Regions from separate parts of the Homo sapiens genome. Here region 2 is linked to region 1. The links are contacts of gene promoters, found by promoter capture Hi-C in blood cells and fetal thymus (Javierre and others, 2016). All regions are on one chromosome and are shown on one strand. The core of a region is centred on a gene start or on the middle of the fragment in contact, and the rest is flanking DNA. Distances in the headings are between cores, read along the strand shown. Region 1 holds the start of PIWIL1 (piwi like RNA-mediated gene silencing 1). Region 2 holds the start of TMEM132B (transmembrane protein 132B).

Region 1 (6,661 bases), core at 1,992-4,491:
TACATAGGGGCAGGCGATGACATCATCTACCATCACTCTGCCTTAAATCACATTATCTTTTTCATCCTCTGAGTTTTAACAGCTTCTAAAATTCTTGGCTTCATGATCTTCACAGAAAGATAAATCTAATGCCATTTTTCAATTTTAAAAACCTCCGACTTCCTATTGTATTTTACAGGATTAAAGCAAATATTCATTGTATAAGACCCCTTACAATATGACTCTAAATCAGCAATTTCCAAAGGAGTTTACACAGGATAATCCGCTGAGGTGCCAGCATATTACAACTAATTTTAAATCTCATTTTAAACTGCTTTGTATTTATTTTATAATGTGCGCATCATGACAATGATTACGTATGCATGCTCGGCTTACACACGGGGCATACTGGCGCATGAAAGTCTCTTACTGATAATCTACAGGCAGCGTCCCCAGCAGCAGCAGCAGCACCACCACCACCACCACCAACCCCCCTCCCCCCACCCCCCCTCCCCCAACCACCACCACCAACCCCCACGCCCCATGGACCTGTACCGGAACCAGGCCACACAGCAGGAAGTGAGCCGCAGTGAGTGAGCAGGACAGCCTGAGCTCACCTCCTGTTAGATCAGTGGAGGCATTAGATTCTCCTAGGAGTGAGAACCCTACTGTGAAGTCGGCGTGCCAAGGGTCTGGGCTGCCTGCTCCTTATGAGAATCTAATGCCTGATAATCCGAGGTGGAACCGTTTCATCCCGAAACCATCCCTCACCGGTCCGTGGAAAAATTGTCTTCCAGGAAATCGGTCCCTGGTGCCAAAAAGACTGGGGACTGCTGATCTACAAATCAATCTGAAAGCATCCGCTTGAGACTCCAGCAAACACAACTTGCTTCCTATCACTATCAATTCCGTGACTCACCCTACACCGTGGCACACCCTCTGCTAACAAAGCCTCACCCTCCTCTGAAACCACAAGAATCCAGTGAACCGCTTAAGGACCAGCTCGCAGGCCATCCCTTGCTCCCTTCTCCGAAAGCCGTTTCCCCGGCGTGACCACGGTCACCCTACTACATGGTAACCTGTTTTCTCCCTCCCCACATCTCTGCACTCCATAGCTTCTCCAACTAGGCTGCGAATCACAATTGATGCCTTTGCACCCAGTCCGTCGCTTGACACCTTACAAACAACGGTGTGAAACAGTGATTAAAAAACAGTGACAAGCTGAACTCTCATCTCCAGCAGGAAATATTCCTAAAGCAGCACGTCAGTTCTCAAAGCCTGGTCCCTGACGGGCAGCATCTGGACTGGCTGGGAACAGAAATTACGGGGTGGGGAGCGGCTCTCAGCCCTCCCGAGTTAGAAGCCGACTGGAAGCAGCCCTCCAGCTGATTCTCATCATCTCCAGGGCCTGAAACCCACGGCGGCGCGCTGTGCTGGTCACTAAATACCTGGGGGGCTCAGCGCTCTACGTCCAGGTTTCCCAGCACAACTCTGGTTTTCAGCTTTATCTCCTTCCAGTTTCAAAACCACCTCAGTCTGGATATTGAATTCTTAAAGTCAGAAAGCAAGTGTGTGCTTCCAATAACCACACTCGCTGGAAATCACCTCTCCGATTCGCTACCAGCTCTGCCAAAGACGCTTCCACCTAACGTCCCTCCGGCGCTGAGCTCAGGACCACGCCGTGCACGTGGGAACCACCACCGCGCCACACGCCTAAAAACCGTTGAGCGGTACATTCTATGCGAGCGGGGTCTCTCTGGCCACAACTTAAAAACGAAAAGAAAAGCGCTCAGAGAACAGGCTGCGCAGGGGTGCAGCCGGCTTTGCCCTGGAGGCCGCCGGGGCTGAAGACGGCGAGAGCATCCATCCCAGGACGCCACCGCCCCGCCGCCCCTTTCCCTCCACAGGTGCCAAGGGCCGGGCCGCCAGCACCCGCGAGGACCCCCGGGCCTCGCAGAGCCCGGCCGTCGCGGTCGCCGCCTCACTTGGGGTCCTCCGGAGTTCCGTCCTCTTCCCAACGTCCGGCTCCCAAGGCTCCCGGGGGCGCAGCGCAGCGGCGGCGGACGCGGGAAGGGGCCCTCGCCCTCCGCAGAGATCGCGCCCCGCGGCCGCGTGGGTAGTGCGGGAGGTCCCGAAGGCCCTCCTGCAGAGCTCTCAGGTCCCCGCAGTCTCACGCACGGCCGCCAATGCGGAGACCTCCGCCCCCGCACCCCCGGCAACTCAGGCCTCAGCCTCTCACCCCGGCCCCTGCACCTGGGACCTCGCCCCCGCACCCCGGCCCCTGCACCCCCGCACCCCGGCCCTACAGCCCCGGCAAGTCGGGCCTCAGCGCTTCCCCCCGGCCCCGCACCCCCCACACCTGATACATCGCCCCCGCACCCCGGCCCCTGCACCCCAGGCTCCTGCATCTCCCAAACCTGGGACCTCGCCCCCGCACCCGGCTCCTGCATCCCCCGCACCTGGGACCTCGCCCCCGCACCCGGCTCCTGCATCTCCCACACCTGGGACCTCGCCCCCGCACCCGGCTCCTGCATCCCCCGCACCTGGGACCTCGCCCCCGCACCCGGCTCCTGCATCTCCCACACCTGGGACCTCGCCCCCGCACCCGGCTTCTGCATCTCCCGCACCTGGGACCTCGCCCCCGCACCCGGCTCCTGCATCTCCCACACCTGGGACCTCGCCCCCGCACCCGGCTCCTGCATCTCCCGCACCTGGGACCTCGCCCCCGCACCCGGCTCCTGCATCCCTTGCACCTGGGACCTCGCCCCCGCACCCGGCTCCTGCATCTCCCACACCTGGGACCTCGCCCCCGCACCCGGCTCCTGCATCTCCCGCACCTGGGACCTCGACCCCGCACCCGGCTCCTGCATCCCCCGCACCTGGGACCTCGCCCCCGCAACCCGGTCCCCGCACCTCGAGCCTCACCTCCACATCCCGGACCCCCAGCCGCCGCCCCCGCATCCCGGCCCCCGCACACCTAGCACCTCAGCCTGGCCCCGCACCTTGGACCGCTGCCCTCGCCCTAGTCCTGGTCCTTGCACCTCAGCCCGAGGCCAACAGCCCCAACGGCTCCCGCGGAGATCCCTCCGCGCCGCCGACCTCCCAGGACCTCCTTCGGCCCGCGCCCACCTCGCCTTCGGCGCTGGGTTCCCGAGAGAGCCAGGGACACGCGGGCAGCGAGCAACAGGCGCTCTTTTCCCGGGCGGATGAACACCGCCTCCCGGGCGCCGGCCTCGTGTCTGTACGCCATACGCCCAGTAACGGCGGAAAGCGGCGCGCGCCACGCCCTCATTGGCTGCCCCGCAAACGGCGGTTTCTGATGTGGCCGGGGCGGGACCAGAGGAGCCCCGCCCCACAGGCCCCGGCCCCGCCCCTCCAAGACCCCGTCTGGCCCCTCCCGGACACCCGGCACAGGCCCAACAAGCCAGGCCCGCCCCGCCCCACAGGCCCTGCCCCTGGCCCCCCAAGACACCGCCTGGCCCCGGACAGACACCCCGCACATGCCCTGGCCCCTCCCCATAGGCCCCGCCCCCATCCCGCCAAGACCCCGCCTGGCCCTGCCTAGACGCCACGCCCAGGCCCCCACAGGCCCCGCCCCCGCCCCACAGGCTCCGCCCCTGTCCCCCCAAGACCCCGCCTGGCCCCGCCCAGACACCCAACACGTGCCCTGCCCCCTCCCCACAGGCCCCGGCCAGCCCCACCCAGGCCCCGCCCTGTTCCTCTTCTGCTTCGCCCAGACCCCCGGCCTTCCCTGGCTTGACTCCTGCAGTTCCCCCAGTGCCAGCCCCCTGCAGGCGGACACGGGGTCGGGCCAGTTCCCTACTAGCTCGTGGAACTGGGCGGCGGCGCACGAAGTAGACCCTCCATAGACTTCGAAATGGTGCCCACGTGGGCACCGAGCGCCCTACTGTAGCAGTGGACTCGATCTTGGTCTGGCCTTTAACGTCGGAAGCTCTTTCACTCAGCACACAGAGATTTGAACTTTGACCCCAAAGAAAATAAAACTGCAATGCAAGTCTAAGGTGCCAGGAGGCCGTTACCTGGAAATTTAGCTTTCAATGACTTGTGCCTTGGGTGCATGCCAACGTGGACCGCAGGGGTTCTCAGCCTTCACCTGCGGGGGATCACCTGCAGGGCTGGTTAGGACACAGACCAGAGATTCCGGTCTGCAGGCTCCACAGGTGGGCCCCGCCGGCTGCATTTCCAAGGCATCGCAGGTGGTAGCGACCGGGTCTACGCCGAGCTAGGTGCCCTCCATAGGAGTTAATTTCCTCATGGAGGCAAAGTCAACAGCCACAAAACAACCGGAAATATTGTAAGATAGAACAGGTTTATTTGTCAAGGTGGAAGTGGGACTGAGGCTCACTAACTGCCTGACCTGTTATGTTCCATAACTATAAACATGATTGTAGGAGGTAGTAGAAATAGGGTCGCCTCTGCAGACAGGTTTTAAAACTGCATTTATACGGTAAACATAGTGCTTTTCCTTTTTTTTTTTTGTGAGACGGAGTCTCACTCTGTCGCCCAGGCTGGAGTGCAGTGGCAGGATCTTGGCTCACTGCAACCTCCGTCTCCCAGCCTCCTGAGTAGCTGCGACTACAGGCACCCACCACCATGCCCACATAATTTTGTGTTCTTTGTTTTGTTTTGAGACAGGGTCTGGCTCTGTCAGGCTGGAGTGCAATGGTGGGATCATGGCTCCCTGCAGCCTCGACCTCCTGGGCTCAGGTGATCCTCCTGCCTCAGCCTCCCCTGTAGCTGGTACTACAGGTGTGTGCCACCTGTAGTAATTTTTTTGTATTTCTTGTAGAAATACGAGAAATACACCCAGCTAATTTTTTTGTATTTCTTGTAGAAAGAGGGTTTCATCATGTTGCCCAGGCCGGTCTCAAACTTCTGGGCTCAAGTGATCCACCCATCTTGGCCTCCCAATGTGCAGGGATTACAGGCATAAGCCACAGAGCCCGGCCTACATATTGCTTATTATTCATACTTAAAAGCGCATGCCTGGGAATCGGGGGCTGGAGAGGGCTGAAGGCTCCCCAAGCCACCTTCCCAAATCCTACGTCTCATCTGTGCCATGAAAGGGGCAGGTTAGATGTCAGCGTTTCCCACACTAGCCTGAGTGTAAGCATCCACTGAGGGAACTTCCAAATAATACAGACTCCCAGATCACGCTGATTCCAGGAGGTCTGGGACGGGTGCAAGGAATTTCAAGAAGTAACATCAAGTTATTCTTATGCTCAGAGAAGGCTAATAAATTTGGGGCGAGGCCAAAAGGCGTTGGAAGCCAGTAGTTTGAAAGAAAAATAGCTTTCCAAAGGCTTTCGCTTTGTAAAAACTAAATGGTGCCTTTTGGAATACAATGTGAACATAACTTTTCCAAGGATTTAAGGTGTTGATGAGAAAGACATTCTGAGACCTGCCAGCAGATGGAGCCATAAAACAAGAAATAGATGTTTACAGCCTCAACTCGGGAGAAAAATACCGTGAATGCACCTTACACTATAGAAGTAACACTTTTCCCTCTGCTTTATTTTCTCTATATGCTAAACTCCTTACTTGCCTCTGCTAAAGAACATCGCTGGAGTGTCTTGGTGTGTGAAGTATGAAATAGTTTCTAAAGACATAAGTTGTGATATAGCAAGACAGAGGCAAAACCCCTCATTCTTCTGAGAGTGTAAACATCATGTCGCAAGAAGCTCACCTAAAATTTGAAAAGGAAAACTCAACGAAAATTTGAAAAGAAATTCAAGGAAAAAAAAATGTGACCTTTAAAATTTCCATGTTGACAGCACCACCAGGACCCCTTCTGGGATCCGTTGCTAGGTATAACTTCGTGCCTGACTCTGGAAGTTAAAAAATGAATAGTTACAGATTCTTTTTCCGGGAGCCGCCTCTAGAGGGGTGTACCCACCAGGGAAGGTGAGCAGAGTGCCACCAATCCTGTGGGTGCTCAGCGGGAGGTTGCTGAGGGATGCTTCGTGACTCAACGCTGCTGAAGCCCTGAAGGCTGATTTGGGTTTGCAGGGAACAGGAGGATCGGCATGGCGGAGCACGTTGGTCTGAGCACATGTGAGGTGTTTAGAAAACTGCAAGTCATCCAGCACGGGAGCAACGCCAGGCACAGGCAGGGGAGTCGTAGGGGATGATGCTGCAGAAGGGACAGACCGGGTTCTAGAAGTTGGCGAGCAAGGAAATGTGAGCATCTGGACTGCCGAACGCACCCTGTTAAGTGCTGTGAGTAAAACACACTCTGTCCTCCCATTGATGTGAATAAAACACACTCTGCCCTCCCGCTGATGGCCCAACAAGGGAAGCAGGGAGTGTGACAATTGGGAACGTGGATGCTGACCTGAAGGGCCAGTGGCTGCTTAGTCCTAGCCAGTTACCAGGAGAGAATGAGGGCTCAGATTTGCTGGGCCTCACATGATGGCTTTGGTTGTTGTTGTTGTTGTTTTTTTAATTGAGGTGAAATTCACATAACACTACATTAACTATTTTACAGTGAACAATTCCATGATATTTAATGCGTTCATAATGTTACGCAACCCCCCACCTCTAGTTCCAAAACATTTTCATCATCCCAAAATAAAACCGTCACTCTCCATCTCCCTCTTCCCCCCACTACCCTGGCAACCACGAATCTGCTTTCTGTCTCCTTTCCTGTTCATTTCATAGA
Region 2 (6,661 bases), core at 1,993-4,492, 5.2 Mb after region 1:
CCCAACTTTGTGCGCCTCGGCCGGGGTCGGGGATGGGGTCCGGGGACGCGTTACCTGGGCACTGGAGCGCAGTCAGCGCCAGCAGGAGCCCGAGCGGCGGCGCCCGGCCCGGGGGCGGCATGGTCCTCGGCGCGCGGTGGGTGCGGCGCGGGGCTGCTCCTCTCGCGCGCCCGGCCCGGCCCGCGGCTCCCGGAGCAGCCCCCGGCGGCTACGCCCGGGCGCCGGGCATGGCTCGCTCCCAGCGCGCCGCTCCTCCCCAGACGCATGCGCCGGCGCTGGCGGCGCTTCCTCGGCTGCGCCTCTGCGCGCTCTCCTGGGCTCGGCCGTGCGTGGCTGGGGAGCTGGGGCGGCCGAGGCTCAGCGCCCCGCGCCCTGGCCGGCTGCCCCGCAGTTGGCCCGAGTTGCGCGGCCCCCGCCGCCGCCGCCGCCGCGGCTCCTGCGCCCCAGCGCCCGTCCCATCCCGGTCGCGCCGCCGCCGCCGCCGCCGCCTCTGCCATCGCCATCTGCCGGCCGCCCCTCGAGCCAGCGAGAGAGTGAGCGAGCGAGCGAGCGCCGGGGGGAGGAGGAGGAGGAGGAGGAGTAGGAGGAGGAGGAGGAGGAGAGGAGCGGAGGGCGGGGCCGCGGCCGGGGGAGGGGCCGCCCGGGAGCCGGGGCACAGGCGGCAGCCCGGCCAGTAGGCGGCGGGACGCGCCACTGCTCGGCGGTTCGGGGGAGGGCGCCCGGCCGGGAGGCTCCGGGAGCCCGCCGGGGGTCGCGGGCGCTCGCGGGTACAGGGGCTGCGGGAGGGGTGCGCAATGCAGAGAGGGGATGCCCAGCTAGATCCGGCGTCTTGGGGCGCAGCGGTAGGAGTTGCCAAGGTCGAGGGGTGAGGAGGCCAGCGGAGGGTCACCGGGATGGGGCAGCGACCTCTGGAGAGGTGGTGTCTGCCGGGGCCAGAGACTGCAAGACTGAGCGCGGACAGGAGGTCCCGGGTTAAATGTGGCACAGCTAGGGAGTGCCTGTGGGAGAGGGGAGAGGAGAGAGGGGAGGGCCTCCGGGAGGCCGAGGCTGTGTGCAGAGCCTCTGCACGGCACCGGGATGGGGGCTAGGGGTGCGCAGGCTGGGTGCGGTGACCTGAAACACAGCGAAGGCGGCCTGGGGATGGCCACCCGGGTGAGGCAGGGTCCCTTATTTACCCAGGCTAGAGGATGCGCCTTCCCATTTCGCGCAGGCCCTAGGAGCACGCGGAGGCAGCCAGGAGTTCTCCTGGGAAGGGCAGATTCCCTGGCGGTCCCGGGAATGAGTTCCCAGCGCAGGGTCAGGCAGTGACGGAGCGGAGGTGTTGCGCAGGGCCGGGTACTAGGTGGTCGAATTCTTCCATCCAGGGGCAGGGACGCAGCCAGAGTGCGGAGGGAGGTCACAGGTCACACGGAGCCCCAGTACCTATTATCCCAGAAACCACTGATCCTCCTGGGCGCCCCACCCCCAACCAGGGCAAAGCCACGGGGGGCTAAGCCGAATGAATGAGTCATGCTGGGAGCATGTGGGGGAGCCTCCAGCAGCGCTCAGATGCCTTCAAGCTTCCCCACCACGCTGGGAGGACAGGGGATATGGGGGGTTGCCCACCTGGGAGGGTGGCTTGGAGTCCTGGCTCCGCCCCAGCCCCCACCACACCAGCCACTTGCTCTGCCATCTCAGTTTTCCATGAAAAAGTGGGTCAAACTCTTTGAAAATGGTCAATAAGGCAGCGTGGGGTGATGAAAAGACAGATTTGGGGAAGGCTCTGGAGTCATGGAGTCTTGGCTGAGAATCCCAGCTCTGCCGCTCCTTAGCTGTGCAAGCTGGGGCGAGTCCCTTATTCCTCCCTGAGCCTCAGTTTTCTCATCTGAGAGATGGAAGGCATTGCACATCACCTGGTGTCCCCAATAACACATACAAAGCCCCTGACCTAGGAAGTCGGAACTCATTTAAAGGAGTCAGTGTCAACATTATCATTCTCATCATCATGGCCATTATTATGATAGATCTGATTTTCCTCTGCGGGCCCAGAGCTCACATCAGAAGGACAATCCTCCCCACTCCCGGCTGCCAAGAGGGGATGGGGGACAGGGCACCTGCTTGATTAGTACAGACAAGCTCATTAGCAGAGGCAGCACTCAGTTCTTCCTAGATAAAAGAAGGAAGAAAGCCAGGGGCAGGTGGTGAGTCTCCAGCCCAGGTTAATTAGGAGACGTAAAGGGATTTTCCCGTGGCTGTTAATCGGCTTCCTTTACAAGGGGCCCATGCCCAGGCCAAGCCCCCTTTGGGCTCCCTGGCAAGGCCTGCAATGTGTGGAGAGCCATACAACAGGCTGGACGACGGGATTGGGGGTCTCCTCGGGCTTAGGGTGGCCTTGCGAGGGGCCCATCTGTCCCCTTTCTGTGACCCTTTCCCCAGATAAGAGGATGATCCTGGAGACGTGGTCAGGACTCTCTTAGGGTCCTCTGTGCCCGGCTGCCCCCAACACCTCTTTCCTGTTCACTTGTTCATAAGCATCTGCAGAGCTGAGCACCTACTGTGTGCCGGCCTCTGCAGGGGATGGTGAAGCAGAAATGAATGGACGACAGCAGGGGAGAGCCACAGCAGGAGTGACCGCGGGGTGCTGGTGCCAAGGTGAACCGTGTGTTTGACCAGGAAGCAGGTCAGTGAGGCTGGGAGACTGTGGCCAAAGATAAAAGTCATTTTCTGGCAGGGTAAGGGGTCATTCTGTGGCTTTAGTGGCGGTGCTTGGAGAGGGTTGTGAATCAGTCCAGCAAGTCCCCAAGCCAGTGGTCACACAGTCCCAGGTGTGATGGCAGATGGCAGTTGCCTTCCCCCCAACCCCACACTCAGGACTACCTGGTCATACTCCAAGAAAGCACCTTTCAGTGGGGAAGGGCACTTCCCCATTAAAATATGCTGATGGTGGTTGAGCCAGACGCTGAAGAGAGGAATCTCCTTTTGAGGGTAGCTTTTCCATGCCCCAGCTGTGTGACTCTGGACAAGCCCCTAATCCTCTCTGAGCTCATACGTGGGGTAGGGATGAGAATTCCAGCCTGGCTCAGCCTGTCTTGTGGTTGGATGAGGATTTCTGCATATTAACCATGCCCCTAAGCCTGTATCTCTAAAGGGGGTGTTTCTGGAGGAAATAAGCAGGGGAAAAAAGCCTCCCTGGATTCTGAAGGGCGGGGGGGAATCTGAGAGGCTGGCGGCAGTAACGAGGAGACCCCAGGGCTGAGCGGAATTCTCCTCTCACTCCTACCTAGACTCTCGCCCCCAGCCTGCTGGCCTCATAGCCTGGGCAGGACCGTAAGAATTACACAGCCTACAATCTCCCCCTAAGTATAGATGGGATACTGAGTCCAGGAATTGTCCTTCTCCTGGATCTGTAAGTGTGGGGAGGCCGACTCGACTAACAGCCAGCCTCGAGCCCCAGCATAGCCATGCAAGGCTTCCTCAGGCCGCACCACCCCCTGCACAGCAAGAGACTGCCTCCAGCACGGATTGCTCCCGGTCCGTCCCCGCACCCCAGTTCTGCTGCAGCTCAGCCCACGCGCCCGCCGGGCTACCGGCGAAGAGCAACATTGCCATCTCGTGGCTGAAACTGGAACTGCAGGTCTGGAGGGCGCTGCAGAAGGAAGGTCAGGGTGGGGGTGCGGGTAGGGGTGAGATGGAGGCGAATAGGCAGAGAGGTTTCCCCACCTCAGCCAACTGGCAGCGGCAATAACAGACCCCTTTGCCCTTGAACGCCAACACGCAGGCAGCTGCTGCCGTGGTGACCACCCGTTGAAATTCTTTGCAAAGCCTGGGACTGTTTGTTGTCCATTGCACACATCGATGTTTCTGGCATGTTCAGGGAACACAGAATTGACTTAGATTGCATTTGCACCACAGGTGAGTGGTAGGGGAAAGGGGCCTCTCAAAATAGAAGCCAAGCTCACTTATACAGGTAATCAAGGATTTACTAAGAATAAAGAATTTCAAGAAATCAGTTACTTGCACACCTGGACATATGGACCCATGATGGAAGGAAGGAGCCTCTTTATGGCAACTTGCAGTCATCCATATCACTCTCTGTCCCCTCCCCTGCTTTGTTCTTCTTCGTAACAGTGGCTACCACCCAGCATCATATGTACAGAGAGTGGCCCAATCAGTCCTGGTTATATTAATGTATGAATGAAAGGAGCTCAGGGCTGGACAGTACAGTAAGCACTGAGCCCTGGGATGTGAGCCCATGAACACTCAGACCAGGAAGGACTTGACTTCCCTTCCAGGTCCACTCCCAACTGGGAGGAGGCCACAGGGGAGAAATGGCTTTCTGGTGTGTTTGAGCAGAAAGCACCTTGAAGAGCTCTGACCCCTGGCTTCCCAGGATAAAATGATTCCTGGACCGGCAGGGGCTGGGAAGGGTGTGAGGTGGCAGCCAGGGGTGAAGGCACCATCGGGATGGGATTTTGGAGCAAGTGTAAAGTGTGCTAGAGCAGAACAAGACTAATAACAAATAATAATGATAATAATAAATAATGATGCATCATTGAATACATACCAGACACTGCTCGAAGCAGTTTGCACGTGTGTTGGTTTTTAATGGTGGTAAAATGCACATAACATGAAATTTACCATTTTAATCACTTTAAAGTGTACAATTCAGTGGCACTTAGTACATTCGCAGTGCTATGCAACCATCACCACTCTCCAGTTCCAGAACTTTTTCATCACCCAACCAGAAACCTGGTACCCAATCACTCCCCATTCTCCCCTCCCTTCCACCCTTAGCACCCACCAGACTACTTTCTGTCTCTATGAATTTGACTGCTCCACTAACTAATTTAAGTGGGATCATACAGTGTGTGATCTTTTGTGTCTGGCTTCTTTCACTCAGCATCGTGTCTTCAAGGTTCATCGACGTCGTACCCTGTCAAAGCTTCACTCCTTTTTATGGCTGACTAATATTCCACTGCGTGGGTAGAACATGTTTGTTTGTCCATCATCTGTTGATGAACATTTGGGTTGCTGTCTACCTTGGAAACACTATTATGAATAGTGCTGCTGTAAACATTCATGTATAATTTTCTGTTAGAACACCTGTTTTCAATTCTTTCGGGCTTGCGTGTTTTGATTCATTTAATCCCATAACCATTTTATTGGCTGAGAAAACTGGAGCACAGAAAGATGAAGCAATTTTTCCATGGCTGCACTGTCAGCCAGCAAATGGCAGAATCATGTTTAACCCCAAGCAGTCCAACCCCAGTGTCTGTTAACCAAGATGGATGAGTTAAGCCAACCATCCCTTCTCCACCCACCATGCCTCAGCACAACCCAAGACCCCCAGGAACTAGAAGCAGCCCTGTCTCCCTTCCCAAGAGGCTCCCTATTTGTTTGAGTGGCAACATGCCCAGCCCTGGGGACGGGGTCAGAATCCTAACAGGTCTCAGCCTACCACATTCCCTCAAGCCAGGGACGGTTCTGGAAGAGGCAAGGGGGTCAGAGTGACCAATGAGATGTAAAGAGGAGCTGGAGGAGGACCACTTTCCTTGATCAAACAAGAGAGACAAAGTTCCTTTTTGCCCTCTTCCCTCTTCCTTCTTGGCAGCTTGTTGAGTACAAGTGTGATGGGAAGGGCCCTGGCAGCCTCTTGTGCCCATGAGGCACCACAGTGCCCACTGATGGCTACTGGTGGGAGAGTGGAAAGACAGATCCTGGCAACATCCTGGAGCCAATGTGTCACCCCAGAAGTGCAGTCCCAAGGCCAGGGGCACTCACTGAGCTGATATTCTGCATTGAGCTCATAAACTGCATTGTTTAAACACTGCTATTTGGACATCCGTTACTTTCAGCAAAAAGCAGCCTAATTAAGAAAGGTGGTGTTTTAGTCAGAGTCTCCAGAAAGACAGAGAACCTATAAGTCCCAGCACTTTGGGAGGCCAAGGTGGGCAGATCACCTGAGGTCAAGAGTTCGAGACCACCCTGGACAACATGGTGAAACCCTGTCTCTACCAAAAATAAAAATAATTTTTTTAAAAAAAGATATACAGAACGAAAGCTATGCAAAGGGATTTATTAGGGGTATCAGCTCACTTGATTGTGGAGGTGAAAAAGTCTCATAAGAGGCCATCCACAAGTGGGAGACTGAGGGAAGCCAGTGATGGGGCTCAGTCCCAATCCGAAAGCCTCAGAACCAAGGAAGCCAGTGGTGTAACTCTCAGTCCAAGCTGAAGGCCTGAGAGTTTGCAGGGTTGGGGGCTGGTGTAAGTTCCAGAGTCCAAAAGCCAGAGAACCTGGAGTTCGATGTCAAGGTCAGGAGAAGGAGGGCAACCCAGATGCAGAAGAGAGCACGCATTCACCCTCCCTCTACCTTTTTACTGCATCTGGACCCCCGCCAGCAGAGGAGCTTCCGTACTCAGGTCACAGACTCACATCCAGTCCCCTCCAAAAACACCCTCACAAGCGCACCTGGGACAGCCCAATCATCCTAATCAAATACCAAACCACCTGGGCTTCCCTTTCAGCAGAAGAGGGACAACCCCACTCCCTGCAGGAGCATTGAGGATAAATAGTGCTTTCCCAGCTATCTGGGCACCCCTTAATCCAGGCAAGTTGACAGCCAAATCAACCATCACGGTGGGTTCAGGAAAAGCCCCAAGTGGACTGTTATATGCATTTA

Evidence for each region. The method cuts DNA at HindIII sites, captures the fragments that hold promoters and counts their contacts. A CHiCAGO score of 5 or more calls a contact.
Region 2: a contact is called between a fragment that was not itself captured here and the fragment with the promoter of PIWIL1 in region 1, in 1 of 17 cell types (total CD4 T cells). The highest score is 9.8, in total CD4 T cells.

Annotation. Positions count from the first base shown.
Region 1 is chr12:130,334,467-130,341,127 of GRCh38, reverse strand. PIWIL1 (piwi like RNA-mediated gene silencing 1) reads right to left here and starts at 3,241. Exons shown (of 21, transcript NM_004764.5): 1 at 2,982-3,241. LOC101927786 (a long non-coding RNA gene) reads left to right here and starts at 4,888. Exons shown (of 3, transcript XR_242978.5): 1 at 4,888-6,219. RefSeq lists an enhancer at 5,948-6,117. The HindIII fragment of the contact is 10,112 bases long and covers 1-6,661 here.
Region 2 is chr12:125,180,260-125,186,920 of GRCh38, reverse strand. TMEM132B (transmembrane protein 132B) reads right to left here and starts at 535. Exons shown (of 9, transcript NM_001366854.1): 1 at 55-535. The coding sequence starts at 121. RefSeq lists a silencer at 543-752 and an enhancer at 801-1,334. The HindIII fragment of the contact is 3,362 bases long and covers 1,562-4,923 here.